Regions from separate parts of the Homo sapiens genome. Here regions 1, 3, 4 and 5 are each linked to region 2. Evidence: promoter capture Hi-C in 16 types of primary human blood cells and fetal thymus (Javierre and others, 2016). All regions are on one chromosome and are shown on one strand. Each heading gives the region's core, a stretch centred on a gene start or on the middle of the fragment in contact. The rest is flanking DNA. Distances are from core to core; before and after follow the strand shown. Region 1 has its middle 56 kb from the start of CREB1. Region 2 holds the start of DYTN (dystrotelin). Region 3 has its middle 40 kb from the start of CREB1. Region 4 has its middle 19 kb from the start of CREB1. Region 5 has its middle 80 kb from the start of CREB1.

Region 1 (5,482 bases), core at 944-3,443, 750 kb after region 2:
GAATTGTGTAACAAATCGGCTCCATGCACTGTATCAGAAGGGCCCTGGCCATTGTCTCATGAATTACCAGCAGATGGCCCAGCACACAGAGATGGCTACATCTGGCCTCTCACCTTTTTTGGGATTGCACAGGGCTCTTGTACCAGATCAGGCTCAAAAGGTTATGGCCAACAATAAAAGAAGAAATAAAACTTGTAGTAACAACAATGTGTAAGGCACCAAATGCTCTGATTTTCTTGTCACATTAAAAATATTTACTGGTTTCTCCAGCCCAGATTTAGCGGCAACCCCAAGCACAGAGGAAATAAACAAATCACTCACTCACCAGAATGAGCTGGTGGCATCATCGCCAACTTCATCATTCTGCCCTTCGGTGCTTTTTCTTTTCTTTTTTTGATTGGTTCTAGTAAGTTATTCATACATAATGGTATCAGTGATGGGGTATAAATACATATATCACAGGAAGGGTTTTGTTGTTGTTGCTATTGGTTTTGTTTTTTTTTTTTGTAAATTAACTTTACAAGCATCCTGCAGCGTTTTCAAATTGTAAACTGCTGTTTCCTAGTTCATAGACTCGTAGAACCCCAGAGCCAGGCTTAGAGCACGTCCAATCTGTTCCTCTGATTTACAGCTGTGATAACTGAGGCCCAGAGAGGTGAATGACTGCTCAAGTCAAACATCTCATCCATCTCAGCATTGGATCTCAAGTTTCTGCCTCCAGACCCCCTGTCCTGCAGGACCTTTTGGCTTTGCTGTCCTTATTTCTCTTCTTCTGATCCCTCATCTGCTCCTTCCTTTGCTGATCATTAGAACAGGAAGAGGGATAAGGGGCAGCTGCCTAAGGTAAGGCAGACGCTTGACCTCTATCACAAACCCTGATCTCATCCTTCAGGTCCTCTTTGCAGTCTGGAAGGGAGAGGAAAACAGGAGGAGAGAGTGGAAACCAAGAAAGTATCCAAGAGGAAGAGATAAGGAAAAAACGGCATGGGGAGAGGTTTTTGTGTCTACCTGCTCAGATACCAGGAGAAGTGAATAAATGCCTCCCCTACAGCTCTCCTGCCCTCCTCCCACAACTGTGAAACTAAAGTCTTAATGAGAATTGATCCAGCAAACAAATAGATCCAAAGGGGTAATAGGACTGATATGGATCTTTCATGGGAAATTGGATGTATCATGGGAAATAAGGAGTCATAGAAAATTATGAATGAAAAATAAGCATAATCAATATACGATTAGAGATGCAAGGGGAGTGGGTAATGATTCCAAGGCACTGACTGCTTTGTTTCACATCATGATGCTCATCACAGGAACCTATGTGCTCCAGACTGGGCCATGCAATTATGACCAACATGCTAGCTCCCTATGCTGACTGGCTGGACTGAATTAATTACTTTTATTATTATTATTATTATTATCTTAAGGAGACAAGGTCTGGCTCTATTGCCCAGGCTGGAGTGCAGATCTGGTGTGATCTCAGCTCACTGCAACTCCACCTGCCAGGTTCAAGCCAACCTCCCGCCTCAGCCTCCCAAGTAGTTAGGAATACAGGAGTGCACCACTGCTCCCGGCTAATTTTTGCATTTTTGTAGAGACAGGGTTTCACCATGTTGCCCAGGCTGGTCTCTAACTCATGGGCTCAAGAGATCTGCTTACTTCAGCCTCCCAAAGTGCTGAGATTACAGGCATGAGCCACCATGCCCGGCCTGAATTAGTTACTTCTTCAGCTTCCTCGTCTTCTAGCTAAAAACCAAGATCACACCTTCAAATGCTATGATTTCACATTTACATTCTGCTCTTTTTCTTTCTGTCACGTGATCCTATCTTTAAATTTGGGAAGGATGGGGAGAGAAGGCTGTTGAGAGATGTTGCATGAACATTCATCATACAAGCCCATGAACCTGAGAGAGAATTCAGCAAGAAAAGTGAGACCAATAGGTTTGTGTGGAGCCTTCCTGTGTGGGCCACGCTGGGTTGGCCACGCTTTCCTTTGTTGCAGATGACACCTGGCTAGTGTCCTGTCTAGGATCCCAAATTCTAACTAGGTTTCCTCCTTCATGAACTGTTGGGTTTTAGTTAATGATTCACCCCTTCAAACACTCAGTTCTGACCCAGGACTGACTCAAGGCTTCCCAAGTCCCTGCTCGCAAATAACAGAATTCTTTGGAAATAAGCTCTTTTAAGAAAGTCTGTCCTCGCACTGCAATCTGAAACGTAGCAATTCGGCCTCTCCGGCCATCTTCATCTGTGTGTTTCTTGCATACAGAATTAAACTGGAAGGTCAGAGCCATTGTCTGTCTCTAGATCCGATTTCTTGCTTCGTAGTCTGGCGGGGAAGTGCTTTAATCTGGTATATTTACATTAGTCCTACTAACACATTTCCAAGTTCTCCAGCTGCCATGCTACGTGAACCAGGTCAAGTCTGGGAGGGAGAGGTTTGCTTTTCCTTCCTGTGACCTCAGGACTGATTTAATTAAACATCTCCTCCAGCCCCGATTTATAGTCTGAAAAGTGTTCTCACAGAGGCCCTTCGATGTGCTCTGCTTTTCAATTAGCTGAAATGCAATAAGTTAAATCGAAACACCATTCTGAGTGTCTGCTGCCACCCTGAGAGCAGTTGCAACAAGCGCATTCGTCTCTGAGCATTTAACTGCAAAGGGTTTAGATAAATGAGTGGTGGTTTCCTTTGGTAACTTAGCACGGTTCTGTAAGACAGATGAGAGGATTGCTGAGTTCCTCCCTGAGCTCCTGGGGGCTGCCAAGCTATCTCCCTGGATTCCCACTGTGAGGAGGAAATAACCTTTTAAATCTTATTTTATAAACACAAATTCTTTTTCTTTAAGATTAAAAATAAGAAAACCCATTTAACACATGGGGTAGGGGGGCTGAGGAAGTGAAGGGGAAAAAAGGAAAAAGGATGTCACAGTGGAACTGTCCTAAGCCTGTCCCTGGTGGCTTTTTGTTTTACCATCAGGCATCAGATGTCCTCCCCAGTTTGACAATCCTGACCCCCCAACCTGCCACCTAGGAATGAATGAAACCAAATTTCCCATAGGAAATGCTCTCTGCTAGTCTCTCAAAGGCTTCAGCCTCAAAATGAAATCTGACAAAAGAAACAAATTAGATTAAACTGCAGCGCTAAGGGCTTTGGATTGCTCAGATAAAAGAATCTACAGAGAGTTGTTAGGACTGAGCACAATCATCTTCTGCAACTTGGAGAAAAAATCTGAAGTCTTCCTTCCTACAGCTGTTCTTGCTGGCCATGGTGCAGTTTTTTTTTATCATCATCTAAAGGCAATAAACAGATGGTGGGAGATGGAAGGGCTCACGAAGGACCACAACCCGCGTGCCCACAGAAGCCGGGCAAGTAATATATGTGGACAAAACTGATCAGTGAGGATTTTTATGTGAGCTCTCCAGATTTTTAAATGTTGACAACTCATTCAATTAAAAAAAAAAAGAGTCCACCACTGTTACCGCAATGTTTACTGAGCACTTTCTATGTGCCAGGCACCTTATGAAATCCATTATAAAGTGCATCCTCACAACAGCACAGTGAGAGGCAGATGCTGTTATTACCTTCAGTTCATCTATGGGGAAAAGCAAATCTCGAAGTGGCAGAAGCAGCCCCTGCCCACAGCTGGGGCCCTGTTTCTATTTACTACCCTAGACTGCTTACCAGTTCTGTAGATGGCCGGGCGCGGTGGCTCACGCCTATAATCCCAGCACTTCGGGAGGCCGAGGCAGGTGGATCACGAGGCCAAGAGATCGAGACCATCCTGGCCAACATGGTGAAACCTCGTCTCTACTAAAAATACAAAAATTAGTTGGGCATGGTGGCGGGCGCCTGTAATCCCAGCTACTCAGGAGGCTGAGGCAGGAGAATCACCTGAACCCGGGAGGCGGAGGTTGCAGTGAGCCAAGATCGCACCACTGCACTGCAGCCTGGGCGACAGAGCAAGACTCCAGGGGAAAAAAAAAGTTCCGTAGACAAAGAAATTGATGCTCACTGGGATTCATGTGGCCAGAATCATAATAATAGTCGGGTGATTTTTTTTTTTTTCAAAGTAAGTAAACTACAGAAACGGAGCGTAGAGCGTAAAGAAGACATGCTGGAAAAGACAGAGAAATATAAGAAAAATATGTGTCATTGTTCCACGATATTTAGCCTTGTCCTAATGGTTGCGCAGACGAAGAGATTAGAGTTTTTATTTTAAAAACTGTGAATTTAAGCATCAATGATGCTGTTTCTATGATCATTCCCTGTGATTGAAACCAAATGGTGAAACAGCCTCACGAAAATGTCTGAGGTTCAAATGCAGTCGCCATTCTGTGTTTGTGTAGACAATGCTGCCCTCTCGTGGCTAACTTCTGAATAGAATTATTTTGTGATTAAAATCAGAACATTTTTACGTTCTCTATTTTCCCGAAGTATTCTGTAGAATGTTGCATCCATTTGCATCGCATATGTGATAATAAGTACATTACTTACATAGCACAACACCTTTGCATATTTTATATCTAATTTGGGATCGAGTTTGTATTATTTTTGCGATTGTTTTATAGGGCACTGGAAGAAATGAATGGAAAAAAATTATGATGCTACTGGGCTCCTGAACTTTCAGAATTCAATTCCTCAGGGAAGAAATGTTTTCTCATGACAGTAAACTTCGAAGAACTCTAGGACAGAAAATGTTTGCGTCTCTAATCTGAACATGATCTTATAGAAATGACTGTCCTCTTCCATTCTAAGGAAAAGGGTTTAATATTTGGAGGAAACAAGAGATCAGTTCATAAATATATTTTTAGGTAAAAACATGGTTCATGGTTGTGCATAGAAAATCACTTTCTGGTTTCCTGCAGGGCAGGAATTACAGAGAAATGACAGACCAAGAGGAGGCTATCAATAAGAGTTACCATGCCAAGGGTAGATGCTGCAAAGCAGTTTTCTTGGACCTGAGTGACAACTCCTGAACCACTGAACAGAAGCCTGCTGCCTGCATGCCTGTGTCATGAGCCCCCGTGCTGTGAGAGGACACACCTACACAGGAGCTGTGATGTGAACAGTGGGTAGACAGCAGTCCTAAGCAAAGGAAATGCCTTTTAAAGAAATAAGGTTGGGGAGTACTTTTGTAAAAAGAGAGGAATTGGCTGGGCGTGGTGGCTCATGCCTGTAATCCTAGCACTTTGGGAGGCCAAGGCCGGTGGATCATCTGACGTCAGGAGTTCGAGACCAGCCTGGCCAACATGGTAAAACCCCATCTCTACCAAAAATACAAAAATTAGCCGGGTATGGTGGCGCATGCCTGTAATCCCAGCTACTGGGGAGGCTGAGGCAGGAGAAGTGTTTGAACCCGGTGGGTGGAGGTTGCAGTGAGCCGAAATCATGCCACTGCACTGCAGCCTGGGCGACAGAGCAAGACTCTGTCTCGAAAGAAAGATAGAGAGAGAGAGAGAGAGAGACAGAGAGAGAGAGAGAAAGAAA
Region 2 (4,934 bases), core at 2,187-4,686:
CGTCTTATTCAGCGTTTCATTAGTAGTGCTAATGTAGCTACTTAGTGCATGTTGAAGGAACAGATGTCTAAGATACTAAGCAGCATTCCAGGCAGAGAACACAGACTGGGCAAAGGCATGGAGGATGGATAAGATGCTGAGCTGCTCACTGTGGCTGGAATGGGAGGTCAGGAATGAGGTAGAAACAGGTGGGAATCAGGGAACAGGCAGGTAGGAACAGGCAGGAGCTATTAGGTCCTTCTGGGTCCCAATCCTACTTTTTGGGGGAGGAACTGTCAAGCCCTGGGTCCTAGGTTTGGATGGATGGAGAAACTGGGTGCCTGTCCAGGATTTCCCAGCCTCCTTGGGCTTTGCCTTCCTCATTGAGATTCCTCCCCAGAGGCGAGGGGGAGGGGAGATGACTTAGGGACGGCAGCTCTCAGATGCATCCTTATCCAGCACAGGGAGCCCGCCAGCTGCCCGTATATATCAGGGCCAGTGTTGTCTTGTTGCTTGCTGGGAAGGGAAGTGTGGGAGATAATTGTGTCTCCTTGGGAAGAAATATGGGTGCAGGCAGAAGCATCTTTCTTTCAGCTTTGGGAGAAGAGATGTTCACTCAGCATCTTCCTCCAGAGTAGGGTGAGGTGAGGGAGAATGTTTAACCCTTTCCCCTTAAACACTCTCTGTAAAATCAATTCCCAAAGGTTAATAATGCATAATTATGCAAAAGGAATTTGGAATAATTCAAAGAGGTTGGCTGGAGAAAGTTCTTGGGGCTAGGAAGGCAGAGAGGAGGTTAGAGAACCATAGGAGTTCAAGGGGGCTGTAGGCAAGTTGGAACAAGTATCAGTTTAGAAAGTGGCTGTGGTGGCCGGGTGCGGTGGCTCACGCCTGTAATCCCAGCACTTTGGGAGGCCAAGGCAGGTGGATAACGAGGTCAGGAGATAAAGACCATCCTGGCCAACATGGTGAAACCCCGCCTCTACTAAAAATACAAAAATTAGCTGGGTGTGGTGGTGCGTGCCTGTAATCTCAGCTACTTGGGAGGCTGAGGCAGAAGAATCGCTTGAACCAGGGAGTTGGAGGTTGCAGTGAGCCAAGATCGCGCTACTGCACTCCAGCCTGGTGGCAGAGCGAGACTCCATCTCAAAAAACAAACAAACAAACAAAAAACAAAAGAAAAAGAAAGAAAGAAAGTGAACTCAGCCTAAATTTCATATCAAGGTACAGTGCCTTGATTTTGATTTAGGAAATGATGTTTCTTGCCCTTGAGTGTTGTGGGGTAAAGTACTAGCTGTTACACATAAGATACTGAGTGCCAGGCACTGTGTGGAGCCACAGAGGGGATTAGAGTGCTGAACCAGGCCAGAGCCACCCCAGGCCAGAGCCATCCCAAAGTAGTGAGAACATGCCACAGGCCTCTCTCTGAATGTATATCCATCCAACAGTCAGCATATGATCATGGATTAAAGACATCTACCTCAGGTGAAGTGGACTGTGCCTAAACATTGTCGCCCAAACAAGAGAGGTTGTTTAAAAACCGTCTACATGTTTTCCTTTCTTTTTCAAGAGGTACAAACATATATATAACTACAATTTGCTCTAAATCTTTTGTTATTCATCATTTCCTTAGGCTTTAAAAATGCTTAGTTTTCAGATAAGATGCCAATGTTAGAGAATGGGAGATGTCAGAAACTCCTCTGTCCTATGTTTGGAGAAAAAAAAAATTGAGAGTAGGCATAATAGGGTGGAAATAATTTACAATAGTGTAATGCCCAACATTTCTTTCCTCTGGAAATTGGCCAATGTTTGTGCCCTGGTTCCTCTCAGATGCACCAAGCAGATACACAGAATCAGCAGACAAGGGGCTCTGCAAGTTCCCAGATGCTGCTCTTGGTAGAGGAGCGACTCTGTAGCTGCTCTACCATCTGGCCATCACTCTCCTGTCAAGTTATGCTTTACAGCGTCATCTGATGAAGTTAGGCAGCATAACACGGCAAGCTGTGATACAGTGCAACATGGAAAATGAATGAGGAGCCCAGGTGAGCCAACACCAGACCCACTTCCTCAAGGCTAACTTTTACATTTTTTTTCTGCCGATGCAAACACACACACACACACACACACACACACACACACAAAACAAACTCAAGAAAGGAAGAAACTACCAAATGTATCACGCCCAAAGCTATGAACAAAGCAGTTTTAGATGCTTAAAGAAATAGTAACACAAGCTACATGTGTTCTTCTTCATGGAAGCAAAATGATTGGGAAATATCTTTTGACCAGGATTCTTGTTTTTGCTCAGCTACATCAGTATATTTATTTTCCACAGATACTAAGGTGGATATAATACAATTCTTTCAAATGTCCATCATCTAGTTCAATGATCCAAAATAGATGCTGTAGGCCAGTGGTCCTCACAGTGTGGTCCCAAGCCAGCAGCATCATGTCACCTGGGAACCTGTTAGAAATGTACATTCCTGGACTCTTCCCAGACCCACGGAATCACAAACTTTGCAGCATATTAACAAACCTTTCAGGTGATTCTGATGCATGCTAATTTTGAGACACACTGCCTTAGAAAATTGAGAAAGAAGAAAATTGAGAGTTGAATGGATTACCTACTGCTTTGTGTAAAGCGTATTAATATGAGAGCCCAAATTTGGAAAACCCAAAGGTATTGTAATCATTTATAATGTTGTTTTAGATAAACAACTAGGGATCATACAGAATTTCATATAAAACAAGTAAGATAACAATGTAGATTTTGGTTAGGGGAGTAAGGCTCCAAACAGATCTAGCAATAGAAATCCCACAGATCAGTTCTGGGCCTAACTTGGCATTCAGCGATGTTAGAAGAAAGGGGAACTAGTTTCTCCATATCCACTTATAAAATTTTCATATAGTGACAACTGTGAGACCTTTCTCCCAACTTGAACTACACAGTACTGTGAACTTACCTATGACATTAAAATATATACGATAATTTCATTTTAATAGTAAACTATGAATATACATAAAACTAAGGTAATAGTTTCTGTGTATTTGAATAGCAATTCAAATGTAATTATGTTGACATCAAGTCTTTTGTTAGATTATTTTTGGTGCTTTCGAGACAATAGACCAGATACTCTTCAGTACATGGTGGATTTCTGTTTAGAAGAGAGAGAAAGCCACTTTAATCAAATAACAGTTTCTTTTTCAGCCAGAAATTTGCCAAATGTTTACTCTTCTTCAAATCAGAGGTCTGAAAATATAACATCTGTGCCTAATTTTTCTGTTTACAAACTATGCTCAGAAACTTGACAATAATACTCACCTTGTTTATCTGGATCCATTTCACAAATTTCCTGGAATGACAGATGGCAAGTGGGTCCCTGTAACTAGAAATGAACCAGTATTTTAAGCAGAAGGTTTTGCAGCAGAGGAATGAGGACAGGGGAACAAAAAGGCAACTAAACAAATCATTTTACCTGTGGAAAGTGACTGCAAGGTGTTCAAGGTGACTGAAATATCTTGGGAGGAAGAAAACAGGGAGAAACATAGAAGCAGAGGCTCCTGATACTGACCACGCTTCTCAGAAAACTGAGAACAGCTCCTGAAACTAATACCATGATGACTTAGAGGCTTTGAGGCATTGTAATTTTAAGAGTGGACTGTATTCTTACTTTAAGATGATATCAATTTACTTGAACTTTAAGAACAAAATTTGAAACTCTCAATACTTAAATTTCTAATAATACTATGCTAAATCATTCTACATATTAAATTTCTAACAAAAGCTATCAACTTGTCATATATATGCATATATACATACATGTATGTATATGTATACATAGGATTCTGTTAATAATTAATTTTTAAAAGAGTAGTCAATTAGCTACCTTTGTTAATTGTTTCATGTTGCAACTATTGTTCAAACAACACACACACAAGAGGTTTGTGGAAAATGTATATTCTGAAAAAAAATAGGCAAGGATTTCAAAATTTTTTTGTACCAAAATAAACTCACACTAGATTGTTGAAGCATGTCTGAACAGGATTTAGTTTGAAGCATTAAGAAGGATAAGATATCAGTCTGAAAATAGCTCTTGAGAGCAACATGAATTCTGCTAAAATGGAAGCAAGAACAAACGTCAAATTTATGGTAAAACTTGGGTGGTAAAATAGTAAAATCATTGATGCTTTACAAAAAGTTTATGGGGACAATGCCCCAAATAAATCAATAGTTTACACCATGGAATACTATGCAGCCATATAAAGGAACAAGATCATATCCTTTGCAGGGACATGGGTGGAGCTGGAAGCCATTATCCTCAGCATACTAATACAGGAACAGAAAACCAAAGACTGCATGTTTTCACTTATAAGTGGGAGCTGAACAATGAGAACACATGGATGCAGGGAGGGGAACTACACACACTGGGGCCTGTTGGAGGTGCAGGAAGAGGAAGAGCATCAGAATAAATAGCTAATGCATGTAGGGCTTAATACCCAGGTGATGGGCTGATAGGTGCAGCAAACCACCATGGCACATGTTTACCTGTGTAACAAACCTGCACGTCCTACGCATGTATCCCAGTACTTAAAATAAAATTAAATTTTAAAAAAAGAAAGGAAAAAAGAAATCAGTAGTTCACAGAGAGATAACTCATTTTGAGAAGGGATGAGAGGATGTGAAAGATGAAACCCACAGCAGTGGACCATCCACATCAGTTTGCAAGAAAAAAATGAAGTTTTTTCTTTAAAGAAATGTGAATGCTGTAATTTAAGAGGACAATTAACAGAAGAAACAATAGCCAACTCCATAGATAGCTCAACTGATTGAGCTTACACAATTCTAACTGAAAAATTGAAGTTGCGCTAGCTTTCTACCAGAAGGGTGCCAAAACCATTGCACGTAGATCAGCTGCAGACAAGAGCAGGGTCAATGGAAATTTTAAACATGTGGG
Region 3 (5,211 bases), core at 701-3,200, 770 kb after region 2:
AATAATACCAAGATGTCATTTGCCTTTTTAACTCTCATTCTTTTACAAGTGTACGGTGGAGTATTCCAGAGGCTATCTGACTTGTGACATGTGATACTGCAACAGACTGAGTAGAGATGCAGATATGAGGATCCAGCTATCTTTTTATTAAGCCAGACACTGAGGAGATTTGCAAAAATGTAAAGCAATGCCACCAGAATTATTTTTGTTTTGGAAGAATTAACTATGTTTTATTTTTAAATCATGTTAACTATAATGGGTCTATTATTGTTCTTATAAGAATAAATACTTTTAATGTTTCAGTTTTAATTTCTTATGTGGTAAATATTACTAGATATACATATAAGCAAGAGCTCTTTGGGGTCCTCAATAATATTTTAAGAGTATAAAGGAGACCTTATGAGGCCAAAAAGTTGGAAAATTGCTGTTACAGGTCATACCCTTTTCTCATCATTCCTACTCAAATGAATGCCAGCTGACACTTAGAGGGTGCTGTGTGCAGATGGGGCATTGTGCTAAGTGCTCAAGGGTCACTTTTCCTTTAACCCTTATGATACTCTTGTAAGCAGGTGCTGTGATCAGCTGCACTTGAAGGACAGTAAGCTGAGGCTTGGGGCAGCTGGATAGAGTGCCGGGGACACACAGCCAGCAAGGGAAGCCATTCCAGCTACTGTCCTCCCATCCTCTCCAGTTTTCTTCTCTTAGTCATTCTCTGAGTCAGCCAGCTTGAAGCCATCTACGCTTCTTTGACTCATCCCTCTCCTTTTTTCTTGAAATGATCTACATTCCCTTCTGAAAGCAGCAGAGGGACTCAAGGTTTGGACGCTGGGTTCCTGGAGCTGCAGCCGCCAGTAAGTGTGGCGAGGTCCCAGGCTTCCAGGCAATAGAGCAGGGAGCCAAGGGGGATGTGCAAGAGGAAACCCAGGAAACAGACCCTCCAAAAGGGCAAAACAAAGGGGGAAAACATATTTGGTAGTCAGGTTCTAGAAGGAACGATTGCTGAGGCCCTGGAAAGGTAGATCCCTTTCTTCCGGGATCAGGCCCACGAGACGGGCGGAAATATTAATCATACTCCTCAATCTCTATTCCCACTCACTTACTTCATTCGGCAAATACAATGGTGTGATAAGTGGGCAGTGATGGGGTAATAATAACAATAACATTTATTGGGCACTTACTATGGGAAAGTGACTATTTTAAATACTTCGTGGATATTAACTCATTTAATCCTCATCTGAATCCAGTGAAGTAAGTACTTGTCTTACACGTGGAAAAACTGAGGCACAGAAAAGAAACATCAGAGTGTAAGGGAGTGAGCAGGAGAGGCCCTTAACTTGCCCCTGGGGGAAAAGGTGATGAAGAAAAGCTTCTCAGATATGGCACATGTATTCGTTTCCTATCGGTGCTGTAGCAAATTACCAGAAACTTAGTTATTTATTACATTTTTTCATAGGTGGTTTTCAATGGCCTACAGAAACTTAGTTATTTAAAACAACATTTATTGTTACAGATTTATTATCTGACAGCTCTGGAGGTCAGAAGTCTGAAGTGGACTTCACTGGGCCAAAATCAAGGTTGTTGGCAGGGCCGTGCTTTCTCTGGAAACTCTAGAGGACAATCTGTGTCCTTGCTTTTCTGGTTTCTAGAGATTACCTACATTCTTTTGGTTCATGACTCCTTCCTCTAGCTTCAAAGCCAGTAGCATAGCATTGCCTCTCTCACTTTGTTTTTTTGTTTTTGAGACAGGGTCTCACTCTGTCACTTAGGCCAGAATGCAGTGGCACAATCTTGACTCACTGCAACCTCCAACCCCCAGGCTCAAGCAACACTCCCATCTCAGCCTCCCGAGAGGCTGGGACTACAGGCGCCACTACTGGTACTTTTTGTATTTTTTTTTTTTGTGGAGATGGGGTTTCGCCATGTTGCCCAGGCTGGTCTTGAACTCCTGGACTGCAGTGATCCTCCTGCCTCAGCCTCCCAAAGTGCTGGGCTTACAGACATGAGCCACGGCACCCGGCCAGCATTCCCTCCCTGATATCTGTGTCTGGCCTTAAATCTCCTCCCTCCCTCCAGTGCAATGCCTCCCTCTGATAAGAACCCTTGTGATTACATGGGTCCCACCTGGACAATCCAAGCTATTTGCTCATCTCAAGATCCTTAACTTGAACACATTTGCAAAGTCCTTTTTGCCATGTTAGGTAACACATTCACTGGTTCTGGGGATTAGGATGTGGACATCCTGGGTTGCGGGGGGGCATTATTCAGTCATTTAACTAATCCTGGCTGATATTTATTGAAAGTCTACCATGTGCACTCTTCTAGGCACTAGGGAGGTAGTGATAAATAAGATCCGAAGACTGCCTAGGAGTCAACCAGGTGAAACAGGATGAGGGAAAATGTGCTCTAGGCAGAAAGAACAGTATAGACCCAGAGAGGGAAGAGAGCAGCTCCCTCCAGAACATGGGGTTCAGCCTGTCTATTAAGCATTGGCTATCCCTGGCTGCTTATTAGGAACTGCTGGGGAGATTCTTTACCAAAGCTTCCTCTGCCCCCGTCCCTGTCCCCAAGTTCTGACATCAGAGATGGGACCTGGGCATCTATCTGGTATTCTAACATGCAGCCAGGAGAAAAATCATTGGTCAGCAGAGTGGCATGAAAGGACACAGGTGCCTAAGGCTGGGCATGGTGGCTCACACTTGTAATCCCAGCACTTTGGGAGGCCAAGAAGGGCAGATCACTTGAGGCCAGGAGTTCAAGACCAGCCTGGGCAACACAGCGAAACCCCGTCTCTACTAAAAATACAAAAATTAGCCAGGCATGGTGCCGCATACCTGCAGTCCCAGCTACTCAGGAGGTTGAGGCACGAAAATCGCTTGAACCTCAGGAGGCGCAGGTTGCAGTGAGCCGAGCACTCCAGCCTGAGCAACAGAGTGAGACTCTGTCTCAAGGACACTGATGCCTAGTCATGGGGCTGGAGAGAAAAGCAAGAACCAGCTCATGAAAAATCTTGTAACCCAAGAGTATGGATCTTACACGAAGGGTTTAATCAAGGGGGCAACATAATCAGGTTTGTTCTCTACAAATGCCCTCTTACTGCACATTGTGAAGGGAGTGGAGAGGGGCAAGGGAAGAATTAGAAGATGGTGGAGACTGGATTTAGCATAGGTATAGTGGGAATGGATGAAATCCATTCCATTTGCAGGAAGCAAAGATACGAATGGTTTCTGGAATGCCTATAATTATTGCTACAGCCTCCTAACTGGATTTCCCAACCCCACACTTTTTCCCTTCTCATCAACCCTGTGAATCACCACCAGATTTACCCATCCTTAAATACCACTTATTGTGTTAAGGAATACTAGGCAGCCTAATAATTAAGTGTATTTGCTCTTGGACCGAACAGACTGGGTTCAAATCCTATCTCTGCCACTTTACGGTGCCCCATTTCCTCATCTATAACATGTGATACTAAAAATAGTGTTTACATCAGAGGGTTGCTTTGAGTCAATGTAGGAGAACTTCTATAATTACCTGTGTATGGTAATCATTCCAAAAAAAAATCATTATTCAAACACCTTCAATATAAAACCTTCTGTTTTCCATTTGTCGGAATGCCAAGGTCTGCCTGTCCAGATCCTTCACCTTTTGGGTCCACCCTGCTACTCAGCCTCGTTGAATTCTGTCCCCAAAATATGTCACATGAACACTCCAGATACAGCACCTTTGTGCCTGGGTCATGCTGCTTTCCTCATTTTGAATGCCTTTATTTTTCCCTGCTACCCTCCCCAGTCCTTCTGTCCCTTAAATGCTTATCATTACTTCTAAAAAAGTGACTCCCAATGCCGTGACTGGTGACCATATGACCATACCCAGTATAATCATCTTTCCCAAGGGAGGACTGCCTGTCATTCCTACCAGGAGGCTATCATTCCAAATAACTCACAAAGCCACTCATGCTCGTAACTGTCACTGCTATCTAAATGCTAAGCACTCACAGAAGGCCCAGAGCATAAACTTGTCTTTCCCATGCTTTGTGGAGCACCATGGATGCCCCTAGAAGCCCATAAATAAAAAACAACTTTGCTATGAGTTAAGTTTTCATCAGGACTGTCAGCTGTGAAATATTCAGAGGCTTTCTTGAGTTATTAACCCAAACCAATGTTGCATATTACAAAGAGACAGGACCCAAAATATGTGAATTAATTGACCAAACTATATTTTAGCAGTTGTCCTTAAAGGAGAAGCGAAGTCCTACCCCAAGCAGGACTTCACAAAGCATGTGTGTCCTTCTTTGCCTCGTGTCCTTTCATTTTTACAGATTTATTGAGGCATGAATGACAAACAATAGACGATGCAATATTAAATTGCACAATTTGATAAATCTCATGTCCTTTTAACCACAAAGCTTTATAATAATAATCATTTTTATTAGACTACTTAAAATTCTCTTCTATTTTCAAACATGATAGTGTAATATTAAAATCCAAGTTTGCCTACAATAAGGCTTCCACACCTATAAGTTACTAAAAATTTCCCTTGGCTGGGAAAATGTGATCCAGAATTTGAAATTACAAAACCAAAAGGATTTTTCTTGTCAATGAAAAATGATTGGCACAGTGGCTCACATTTGTAATCCCAACACTTTGGGAGGCCAAGGCAGGAGGATTGCTTGATGCCATAAGTTCAAGACTAGCCTGGGCAACATAGCAAGATTCCCATCTCTACAAAAAAAAATTTAAGAAAAGTGACACGTGCCTGTAGTCCTAGCTACTTGAGAGGCTAAAATGGGAGGATCCTTGAACCCAGGAGCTTGAAGCAGCAGCGAGTATGGAGTATGATTGCATCACTGCACTCCAGCCTGGGTGACACAGCAAGACCTGTCTCAAAAAGGAAACAAAAGAAAAATGATCGCGTTGGATTTTAAACCAAGACGTTATAGGCACTCAACTTGCTTTTGGCTGGAAATAAAATATTTTCTATAAATTTATTTATTCTTATTTACTATTATTGAATAATGTTAATACAACCATAACATTACTAAACATTTACTGAGTTTATCATGTGCCTGGAGCTGTGCTAAATGCTTTCCATACATTCTGTCACTCAGTCCTCACAACAGCCCTGGAGGAGGAAAGGGCTGTCCCTTTTTAACAGATGAAGGAACCAAAGTGTGGCGAAGTTAAGTTATTTATACAAGCTCAAGCAACCAGT
Region 4 (5,284 bases), core at 326-2,825, 790 kb after region 2:
ATGTGGTCCTGGACCAGCATTATCAGCATCACATAGATACTTGTCAGAAATGCAAATTCTTATTCTCCTACTGAATGAAAAACTGGGGATGAGGGCCAGTCATCTGTATTTCAACAAGTCTTGCCGGTGATTCCGATGCACGCCATAGCGTGAGAACCAGTATAGCAATAAAACCTCTGATGTTTAGCTGGTAAACATGGCCACCTGGACAAAGAGACTAGGTAAGGTGGCTGCATAAGGCCCCTTGACTAAGTTCTGTCAAAACAGAAACAACAAAAAGTAAAATAAAAAGTTCTGTCAAAACAGCAAAAAGTAAACAGAAATGTGAAAAGGGGAGTTATCTTCTCTGACTCCTCCTGCTTCATGATGGCTGGAATTCAGATGTGATAGCTGGATCCCCAGAAATAGTCTTAGACAAGAGATGATGCTGAGAAATTAATCCACGCACAGCAGAGCAACAAAGTGGAAGGGGTATGGGACCCTGGCACTGTGGAGCTGCCATATTAGCTCTGAACTGACTCCCTGATTTCCTGAACAGAAAATTTCTACCTTGTTTAAGCCTGTTATTCTGTTTTCTATCTCTATAATATCCTAATGCATGATCTTAATAAAGTTAGTCCCCTTTCCCCTCACCTACTAAGATGTTCTTTAATATAAGAATATTTTCTTTATTGTCACAAGTTATCTTGCAGATTATTTCTTTAGTTGTTTGACTCTCTTCCTATTGGTCTGGAAGCTCTATGAAAGCAGTTACATTTTCTTTATTATTGAATCCCCAGCATCTAATACACACTATCCTCACAATATTTACTGAATGGAAGATGGAAGGATGGATGTAGGCAAACCAAATTTTGTCCGTTTTTGGCACTGATAAATTGACTATGCTTCAAAATAAATCTTTTAAATACTAAATTTTCAACAAAACTATCCCCTGCCCATATCCTAGCTTTGTTCCACATTTAATCTGAATATGAAGCAATAATATCAGTAACAAACACTTTTAGAAGCTTTAAAATGTGCCAAAGACAAATTCCAATACAGGAGCAACCTACAATATACCTGACCAGTCCTCCTCAAACTGTCAAGGTCATCAGAAATAGGAAAGTCTGAGAAACTGACACAGCCAAGGGAGCCTAAGGAGACATGACAACTAAATATAACACAGTATCCTGGGATGGATTCTGGAACAGAAAAGGACACTAGGCAAAAACTAAGAAACTCTCAATAAACTATGGACTTTAGTTCAAAACAATACTCTATCAATATTGCTTCATTAATTATAACAAATGTACCATACTAATGTCAGATGTCAGCAATAGAGGAAACTTTGGGTAGGGTGGGGTGGGGAGGTTACATGGGAACTCTCTATATTATCTGCTTGCTTTTTCTGCAAGTCCAAAACTTTCCTTAGGGCTGGGTGCGGTGGCTCACACCTGTAATCCCAGCACTTTGGGAGGCCAGGGTGGGTGGATCACTGGAGGTCAGGAGTTCAAGACCAGCCTGGGCAACATGGTGAAAGCCTGTCTCTACTAAAAATACAAAAATTAGCCAGGCGTGGTGGCAGGTGCCTATAATCCCAGCTACTCAGGAGGCTAAGGCAGGAGAATCACTTGAACCTGGGAGGTGGAGATTGCAGTGAGCTGAGATCTTGCCACTGCTCCAGCCGGGATGACAGAGTGAGACTCCATCTCAAAAAAAAGAAAAAAAAAACTTTCCTTAAAAATAAAGTCTATTAATAAAAGACGTGTGCCAAAGACTGTTACATATATCAACTCATATTGCCTGTATTAATTCTCATAGAGACTGAGATAGATAACTATGATGAGCCCTATTTTACAAATCCAAAATGTACATTAAGTTATGTTCCCTAAAGTCCTTTAGGCTTATGCTATATGTTTCTTCTGGATCAAAATCTATTTGATTCAATTATTTAACATAATGTGTATTGCTTATTGTGTGCCAGTAAGGGACTGAGTTTAGGCAATTCTATGAGCAGAGTTAAAATTGGGAGAGCAAGGAGGCTTTGTATCAGCCCACTAAAATTTAAAGGGCACAAGCAAACATTTTCAAGAATTTTCTGTTCTGAAATGTGTTATATTTACATGTTGACAACACATATATTTCTCTAACAGGTAGAAACAACTAAGCTTGATATCTAATTATCAAGAAAAATTACTTAAATATGAAGCCACCAGATGGCACAAAGTGTTAAGAACACATAAATCATACATCATATGTTACAAAGCTGATTTAAGAGTGGGTTTGTGTCTTGTACTTATAGTGAAGGCTCTATCTCCGAATATATCCCTGGTAAAAGAACATCTCAAATGAGAAAAATCTCTAAGTCATTGCATTACTTTCCAAAGATATTCACTGTAAACCTTAACTATGATTTTGGCTTAGTGTTTTTATTATTGGCTACCCTGTTGACCAAAACAAAGATTTGGCACCTTGGCTGTTCAGACTGAAACTCCCGGCCAATGCAATTTGACCATGAAATGTTATGAGTGCTCACTATGATAACATGGTACAATTCAGGCAGATATAAGCTTTGCTGAAGAAGTATTCTACAAAGTGCATTACCCATGAGGTTTGATTTCTATACTCTGAATTGGAATCAATTGGTAATATTCAATCCAAATAGCCACCTGAAACAATACCCAAGTGCAATGGACCAAATGTTTGTGATCTCACAAAATTCATATATTGAAATCCTCATCCACAATATGATGATATTAGGAGGTGGGGCTTTGGGAGGTGATTAAATCAGGAGGGTAGAGCTTTCATGAATGGGTTAGTGCTCTTATAAGAGATCCCAGAGATGTCTCTAGGTCTCTCTTCACCATGTGAGGACATGACAAGAAGATGAGAAGATGGCCATCTGCAAGCCAGGAAGTGGGTGTTCACCCACAGAGAGAGATGCCTTGATCTTGGACTTCCCAGCTTCCAGAACTATGAGAAATAAATGTTTGTCATTTAAACCACCCAGTCTATGGTATTTTGTCATAACAGTTCAAGCCGACTAAGACACCAATGGAGCACTTTGCATCTATGATTTCATTGCTTCTCGTGGTTCCTTCATCTGCCTCACTCTATTTATCTTTAAAAGTTCTGCAGAGAGGCTGGGTGCGGTGGCTCACACCTGTAATCCCAGCACTTTGGGAGGCTGAGGCAGGCAGATCACGAGGTCAGGAGATGGAGACCATCCTGGCTAACACAGTGAAACCCCGTCTCTACTAAAAATACAAAAAATTAGCCGGGCATGGTGGCAGGCATCTGTAGTCCCAGTTACTCAGGAGGCTGAGGCAGGAGAATGGCGTGACCCCAGGAGGCAGAGCTTGCAGAGAGCCGAGATCGCACGACTGCATTCCAGCCTGGGCGACAGAGCGAGACTCCAACTCAAAAAAAAAAAAAAAAGTTCTGCTGAGAGCTGAGGTGCGCCTGTAGTCTCACCTACTTGGGAGGCTAAGGTGGGGAGGATTGCTTGAGGCCAGGAGTTCAAGGCTGTTGTATGCTATGATCACACATGTGAACAGACACTGTACCCCAGCCTGGGCAACATAGCAAGACTTCATCTCCAAAAAAGTAAAGTTCAGGGGAGGCCTCAACTCCTTCACAGTCTTTCTTAACCTGATCTGTGTGGGGTCATTTCTATATACTCCCATAGCACCTTGTGCTGACATTGCTCATAGGATTTATCACAATTCAGTACAACTCAACAAGTATTGAATGAATGCCAATGAGACATGGTTCTAGGCACTTAGGAATCATTACTGAACAAATCAAAGATGCCTACCCTTCTAAGGAAAGATAGATAATAAACTACAATACATAAATAAATGTTGTAGTATGTTATACTGATAAGTGCTATGGGAAAAAGAAACCGTGGAGTGGATTACAGGGAATGGGATGGAAGGGAGCACAGAAGAGATTCAGGTTGCAGTCTAAAATAGGGTGGCCATGGTAGGCTTCAGTGAGAACATGAGATTTCATCAAAATCTTGATGGACGTGAGGAAGTTAACTCTGTAGATCCTGGAGGAGGAGGATTCCAGGCAAAGGGAAGAGCTAAAGCAAAGATCCCTCCAGCAGGAGCATGATGATGAGATTGAGAAACTGCGAGACCAGTGAGTCTTGAGCAAAGTGCACCAGAAGCAAGGAAGAGAGGGAGAGAGGTGAAGCAGGGAGCACTAATTTTGTCAGACCTGTAGCCATTACAAAGACTTTGGCTTTTACTCTGAGCGAAATGGGGAGCTGGGAGAGCTGAGTTTTGGGTAGAGGAGAGACATTATCTGACTTAGTTTTGTAAGATTTGCTCTGGCCACTACGTTGAGAATAGAATTGTAGTGGGGCCAAGACAGAAGCAGAAAAACCTGTTAAGAGGTAATTATAGGTGAGAGATGATGATGCCTCAGGCCAGAACAGTAGCAGTAAAGGAGGGCAAATTCTCTATATAGAAACTTGGTAGATTAGATGTGGTATGTAAGAGACAGACAGAACCCAAGGATGACTCCTGGGATTTCGATCTAAGCAACTACTGCAATGGAGTTATCATGAACAAAGCAGGGAGACTATGAAAGAAACAAGTTAGGATCCAAAGAGCAGGAATTCAGAAAAGAATATAAACCTGGTCATTTTCTAAAAACCTTCCATTGACACGTTCTAGTAAGATGGAGCAAACAGAAGGAGAGTGGGCATAGTAGTTTGAAAGAAAATCTGGGATTCTGCAGAGAGGAACATTTTAGAAATGTTGCATTTCTCACTTTCAATACTTGATATCACAGACAATATTTTGAGAAAAAAAACACAGAAATCAATGTCTCTGAGTTGAAAACTGATCCTGAAGAATTAGACTCTGATCATGAAAAAATCCTAGAAATACTTGAAATGTTATGTTTACAGATTTGTTTACATTTGCCTTTATATCTATGGCACAATAATACGATTTTAAAAACCTGTCTAAATAAGTCTAATATTTTTTCATAAATGTAAAATAATTTGGTGATAAATCATTGCATCAGTTTAATTGGAAATTAATTTTTATTGGTGATACAAAAATGACATTTTAATCAGATGCAATGAAATATGATAGTAATATCCAATATTAATCATTTTCAATGTGCCAGGGACAGTGCAAAGTGATATGTTTGGATCTTTTCACTTCATCCTCACAACAATCCTATGAAGTAGTTGCCATTATTTTCCTCTTCAGCAAAAGCTCAAAATAGCAAAGTAAATTTATACTTTCTGTATGTCCCATAAGATTTTCATACTTTGCAATGTTTT
Region 5 (5,501 bases), core at 992-3,491, 730 kb after region 2:
TAAAGGGGTCACTGGAGAACCTCCAACCAGCCTGCGCACTGGGAGAAGCGCACACTGGGGTGGAGCCTCGGGAAGTTCCTGCTGTTTGCAGTGGGGAGGAGCCTGGCCTCTCCTGTTCTGGGGTCGTACCTGGAAATCAATCTGTGAGGCGGGAAGCCTGCTAGCAAAACTCTCACTTTGCTGAGAGTCCCTGTTTCCCGTTTTTTCCTTTTCACCCAGTAAACCCTGCCCTTCTCACCCTTCAAAGCATCTATGAGCCTAATCTTTCAAGGTTGTGTGAAAAGAACCCAGCTTTTAGCTGAACCAAGGGGAAAGTCCTACAATATATATATACATGCATGTATGTATTATATGTGTGTGTGCGTTTAAATAGGATCTGTGTGGGTATGGGGTTGATTTACAATCCCCTGTGACTTGGTTGCAGCCCATGTCGTCTGTGTGGATAATGGGTCTGCATCAGAACCCTAAACCCTGCTCCTTTTGTAGTTACAGCATCTTGGTTTTCAAGCTGCCATTATTTTTTATTATCATTAGACACCACATCCTACTTTTCTTTCTTTATCACAGCTCAACTTCTGGAATGGGTATTCCCCGTCCACTGCTTCATCATCTCACATCAGAATTGTTGAAATTGTACTTTTATTACTGTACTACTTTCTTCTCTTTTTTTTCTTTCTCTGTACTTTTTTGTTTACTGCTATTTATTATTATATTACTTTTCTCACTCTTCTAGAAGTTGTGCACTCTCTGTAAGCTCTTAAATCACCAGTCTAGGAAGAGAACTAGGAGGTCAAAGAGGAAAGAGGAGCCACTTGCCAAATTCCAATTGCAGGTGGACACCATGAATATATCACAGAACAGGTCAACTGCCCAGGACTTTCAGAAAAGCTTGGTTTTCATTAGATTCTCCTCCAACTCTTTCATAATCTAGGCTTCCTGCCCTGTGTTAATTATATTTCTGACCCAAAACCAACAAACTAAGAGGCTGCATGTTGTGATGGAAAGTGTGTTGGACCAGATGCCAAAAACTGTGACTTTTAGGGCCAACTCTGAAGCTAGCCAGCTGTGTGACCTTGAACAAGTCATTTCTCCTCCAGACCCGTTGTTCCCTCACTGCTTCAATGAACAGTTAATAAGATTTTGTCCATGATTTCTTCCAGGTCAAAATTATGTCATTCTTTCACCCTAATTCCCTTTCTTCTTACTGGTAATATATCATATATAATAACATAGTTTACAATTCTTATGAGCCAGGTTAAGAGTTATTACTACTTCTTACTAAACATAAATTACTACTCATGAATTACTTAACACCAAAAATGAACACTTAACATGCAATTACAAAAAAAAAATTTTGTTAGCTTTATTTGAGGTATGATTCAGCACATGAGGTATTTAACACACCACTGTCAAAGCAAACCTTAGTTTTAAAACCCAGCAAATAAAAACTGGATCTGAGAAACTGGACCTAAGATTGGCTGGGGTCCATCATCTTTATGAGGGTAGACGGACTTAGAATACACCATTTATCTAAGAATTGGGCAGATAATCTGGAGCAAGAGGGCAGGGGGTGGTAAATTGGTGGGAAAATTAAAGATACATTTTCTCCAGCTGTTTGATTTTTCATGCTGTTGAGTTTTAAGGTTACAGTATGTAACCAGAATATGAAACATCACTGGGAGGAAGGGAACTCATTTAATATTATGTTAGTTGTAGAATTATAACTAGGTGTAAAGCAAAGAAAGTAGTTATCTATTATTCATTCCTTCTGAACAGACATTTCCTGTCTGTGAATACAAAGCATGACTAGAATTTACTTGCTGAAACTCAGAGATGCTATAAGAGAACATTTCATTTTCATTTGATCTGACCTTGTGTATGATAATGGAGCTTCTCTAAAACACTGATGCTTGTCTGTTCTCCTTATATTATGCCCCTGAGAATTATTCCTATTCCTGACCTCATAGATGGGGAAATTAACCTCAGAGAGTTTTTGAGACTTGTCCAAGGTCATCGCCAGGTTCAATCTCTTTAGGCAGTCCTGAACAGGTGTGGCCACAAAAATCAGTGAAGTTAGTTATCTGCGTATCTATATGTGACTTCCTATATTATACGAAGTATTTCTCTCACTGATAACTGAGCACATCCAATCTAGCATGTCAGATTCACCAGAAATTAACATGCATTCTGTTCATTCCAAATATCCCTAGCTGCTTAGTGAACCTGTGAATGAATTAAAGATGGCTTCTCAGCATGATGACAGAAAAAAAATTTCTAGCTAGAGACATTGTACCAGACATAGATGCGCTGGACATAGATGTACTAGATATAATTGAGCCTCATGCTCAACTGCTAAATCAAGTATCCTGCCTCCTGACCAAGGCCTTGAGTTGAACCAAAGCATAAAACCCAAACTATAAAGAACTCAATAAACTGAGATAAGACCTTCTTGGTTTTCTCCTGTATTTGGTTTTTCAAATTTAATTATGAGCTAAATCAACTTCAAAATTCAGACCGTTTTGACCTAGAATCTAATCTACTATTTTCTAAAAATTATTAAGTCAGAATATAATCCCATTGAATTGATATGTCATCCAGTTCAAGCCCTCCAAAAATTGATACATTGATACATAGGTAAGTAGGTGGAGGAATGGAGAGATGAAATGGACGAATTCCCCTGCCAGGACTGCAGTTATTTGCTCCAACCTCTAAAACTACCTAATACACCTCTTCACCTAAATACCCCCTTGCTAAAATCCTGACTGATTAAAAAGCGAAGTTAACAAATTTTCTCTGATGAGTTTTTTATCATGTTCATAGAAAGAGAAGTCTGATATAAAGTAGTAACACAAGAATAAACAAACCTATAATTTGGAGTAGCAGCTCCAGGGACAATAATAAGGTTTTCCAATCTCCCAGATCATAATTAACAGTGTAAAGAATTAAAGAGAAGTTCAGGAAGGAGTGCTTAAACCTTTTTGTAAATTTAAAAACAAGTAATGATCTCCATTGCTGTTCTCCAGGTTTATTCAAATTTGGACAATTAGGACAATTAAACATAAAATAGAGACAGCTCTAAAGAGGGAGCTACAACAAAGCAGAATAATTGCTGGGACTGGCTATCAAATTTACATAAAAAAAGATTAAAAAGCTGATTTACATTTAAAAAACAAGATCAGGCAATATCTAAAATAGATAACACAACCTACTGAGAAAAGCTCTTTTCATCAATAAAGGAGAAGCAAAGGTGATTATATATAACAAAACTAATCTTCTATATTGCTTTAATCACCTAAAACCACTTTAACTGTTTATTTGGGAACCATTTTGTGGGGGAAAAAAATATTGCATGTAAAAGCACGTAATTTCTAGGTTGCAGTAAAACACAGACACCATCAAGATCATGCTATATTCTCAGCTCATTACCTGCTCTCTTCTCTAGATCCTGTCTTCTCTTGGTTATCAAAAATTCTCACCACTTACAAATTCATTCATTCTAGAACTTGAAAATTTGCCATGTAATTGATATAACAGATGCTTCCAGAACAGATGTTCTGCTTATTGTTACTGCATCTCATGAACAAAGTAGATTATAAAGCTTTTTCCTTCCTGGACTAAGCACTTACATGGCATTTTGAGCTTTTTTCAAAAACGAAAAAGAACATAATTACCTGCATTTTAATATGTACTGTAGGATAGAGGAAAAAAAATCTCTTTGTCTCTTTATCCATCTTAGGTTCTCCAGGTGGGACTCTATAAATTAGGCTAACAAAAGACAGATTAACAAGAGAAAAGTATACACATTTATTTAATGGAAGTTTTACATGACACAGGAGCCTTCATCAGAAAATGAAGACCCAAAGAAACGATTAAGCTGAAGTGTTTTTATACCAGGTTTGATAAAGAGTGAAAAGTCATGCAAAAACATGACAGGACAAAAGGGTATGAACTAAGGTTCTGAAAGAAACTTAGCAAGGCCTGTTCATTCTGATTCCTCATAGTGTGTCCTGTCCAATAAATCCAAAAACACTTACTGGCTTTGGTTCTGAATCTCTTGGTAGATACTTCCAGTTTAAAAGAAAGAAAAATAAGAAGAAAAAAGGCCAGGCATATTTGTTATTTGCCTTTGCTGAAATTATAAGATATTTGAAATAATTTTTTTTTTAAGAGCTCTATGGTCAGAAGTTAGCTTAATAGGAAGCTGATATTCAGGCTACAATTTTTGTTAAGTCCCCTCTGTTGTTCTGTCTGTTGGATCCTGCTTCTATCACAGGAACGTCTCAGTCTACTGAAACCTCTCTTACTGAACCCCTGCTAACCATATGGTCAGTCCCTCTGTCCACATTTTTTTTTCTTGTTGGCATGATTTTCGCTGAGGATAATGTGGAAATTCATGTACCTTTTTGGGAAACTTGAGACCTCCCCAAACTAGCTCCTGTAAGACTTCTTTCCATTTGCTTCTGTTCCTCCTTCCTCCCTTTGGCACTTACAATCTGCCATCCAGTTCTCTCGAATCCTTGATTTATTCTCCTTCAAATCCTTACCTCCTCCATTTAGTGGTCAGTGGATGAAAAATTACTAACAGGAAACACCAAAGGTAAGAAAAATTTCAGTCTCTATAGTCAAACTTTAGGTGGGCTTCTGGACCTTCTCCTAGGACTATCCATGTACATCCTTGTAGAATCCTGTAGTGAATTCCTATAATTTTATGTCGCCTCAGAATCCTTTTGAGTCCTCCTCTATGTGTCACCTAACTGACACACCTCAAACTCCTTCTTGGAAAAACTTGCATTCTTTCTCTGTGCCTTTGAGATATAAATTTTCTACCCTTTCTTCTCTAGAATTTGATCATTACCATTTGGAAATACTGTTGTCCTTTGATATCCACAGGAGATTGGTTCTAGTACCTCCCACAAATACCAAAATCTATGGATGCTCAAGTCCCTGATATAAAATAAGATAGTAGTTTCATATAACCTATGCACATCTTCCCATATTCTTAAAATCATCTCTAGATTACTTATAATACCTAATATAATGTAAATGCTATGTAAGTAGTTGTTATACTATATTGTTTAGGGAAAAATGACAAGAAAAATGTCTGTCCATGTTCAGTAGAGATGCGTGCTCTTTAAAACAATATTTTCAATTCCTGATTGGTTGAATCCACAGAAGCAGAATCCATAGATACAGAAGAGATGACTGTCAGGGAGATGACTGTCATCAAAAAGAAAAAAACTGAACTGTTTAGAAATTGGTCAAATAAAAAATCTTAAAAGCCTTTTCCACAAAAAAACTAGTAAAAAAGCTTTAGCCAGGCCAACTGTGGTGGCTCACACCTGTAATCCCAGCACTTTGGGAGGCCAGGGCGGGCCAATCATGAGGTCAGGAGATCGAGACCATCCTGGCTAACACAGTGAAACCCCGTCTCTACTAAAAATACAAAAAATTGGCCGGGCGTGGTGGCACACGCCTGTAGACCGAGCTACTAGGGAGGCTGA

What was found. The method cuts DNA at HindIII sites, captures the fragments that hold promoters and counts their contacts. A CHiCAGO score of 5 or more calls a contact.
Region 1: a fragment that was not itself captured here is called in contact with the fragment with the promoter of DYTN in region 2 in 2 of 17 cell types (monocytes and fetal thymus); the score reaches 7.7 in monocytes.
Region 3: a fragment that was not itself captured here is called in contact with the fragment with the promoter of DYTN in region 2 in 2 of 17 cell types (endothelial precursors and fetal thymus); the score reaches 7.3 in endothelial precursors.
Region 4: a contact is called between a fragment that was not itself captured here and the fragment with the promoter of DYTN in region 2, in 1 of 17 cell types (fetal thymus). The highest score is 5.2, in fetal thymus.
Region 5: a contact is called between a fragment that was not itself captured here and the fragment with the promoter of DYTN in region 2, in 2 of 17 cell types (fetal thymus and naive CD4 T cells). The highest score is 5.5, in fetal thymus.

Annotation. Positions count from the first base shown.
Region 1 is chr2:207,470,731-207,476,212 of GRCh38, forward strand. No RefSeq gene overlaps it. Among named protein-coding and RNA genes, the nearest start is that of CREB1, 56 kb to the right of the region's middle. The HindIII fragment of the contact is 8,487 bases long and covers 1-5,482 here.
Region 2 is chr2:206,714,960-206,719,893 of GRCh38, forward strand. It overlaps DYTN (dystrotelin), which reads right to left and starts at 3,437. Exons shown (of 12, transcript NM_001093730.1): 1 at 3,302-3,437. The coding sequence starts at 3,320. The HindIII fragment of the contact is 17,717 bases long and covers 1-4,934 here.
Region 3 is chr2:207,487,359-207,492,569 of GRCh38, forward strand. No RefSeq gene overlaps it. Among named protein-coding and RNA genes, the nearest start is that of CREB1, 40 kb to the right of the region's middle. The HindIII fragment of the contact is 1,173 bases long and covers 1,365-2,537 here.
Region 4 is chr2:207,508,148-207,513,431 of GRCh38, forward strand. No RefSeq gene overlaps it. Among named protein-coding and RNA genes, the nearest start is that of CREB1, 19 kb to the right of the region's middle. The HindIII fragment of the contact is 1,140 bases long and covers 1,006-2,145 here.
Region 5 is chr2:207,446,798-207,452,298 of GRCh38, forward strand. No RefSeq gene overlaps it. Among named protein-coding and RNA genes, the nearest start is that of CREB1, 80 kb to the right of the region's middle. The HindIII fragment of the contact is 2,710 bases long and covers 887-3,596 here.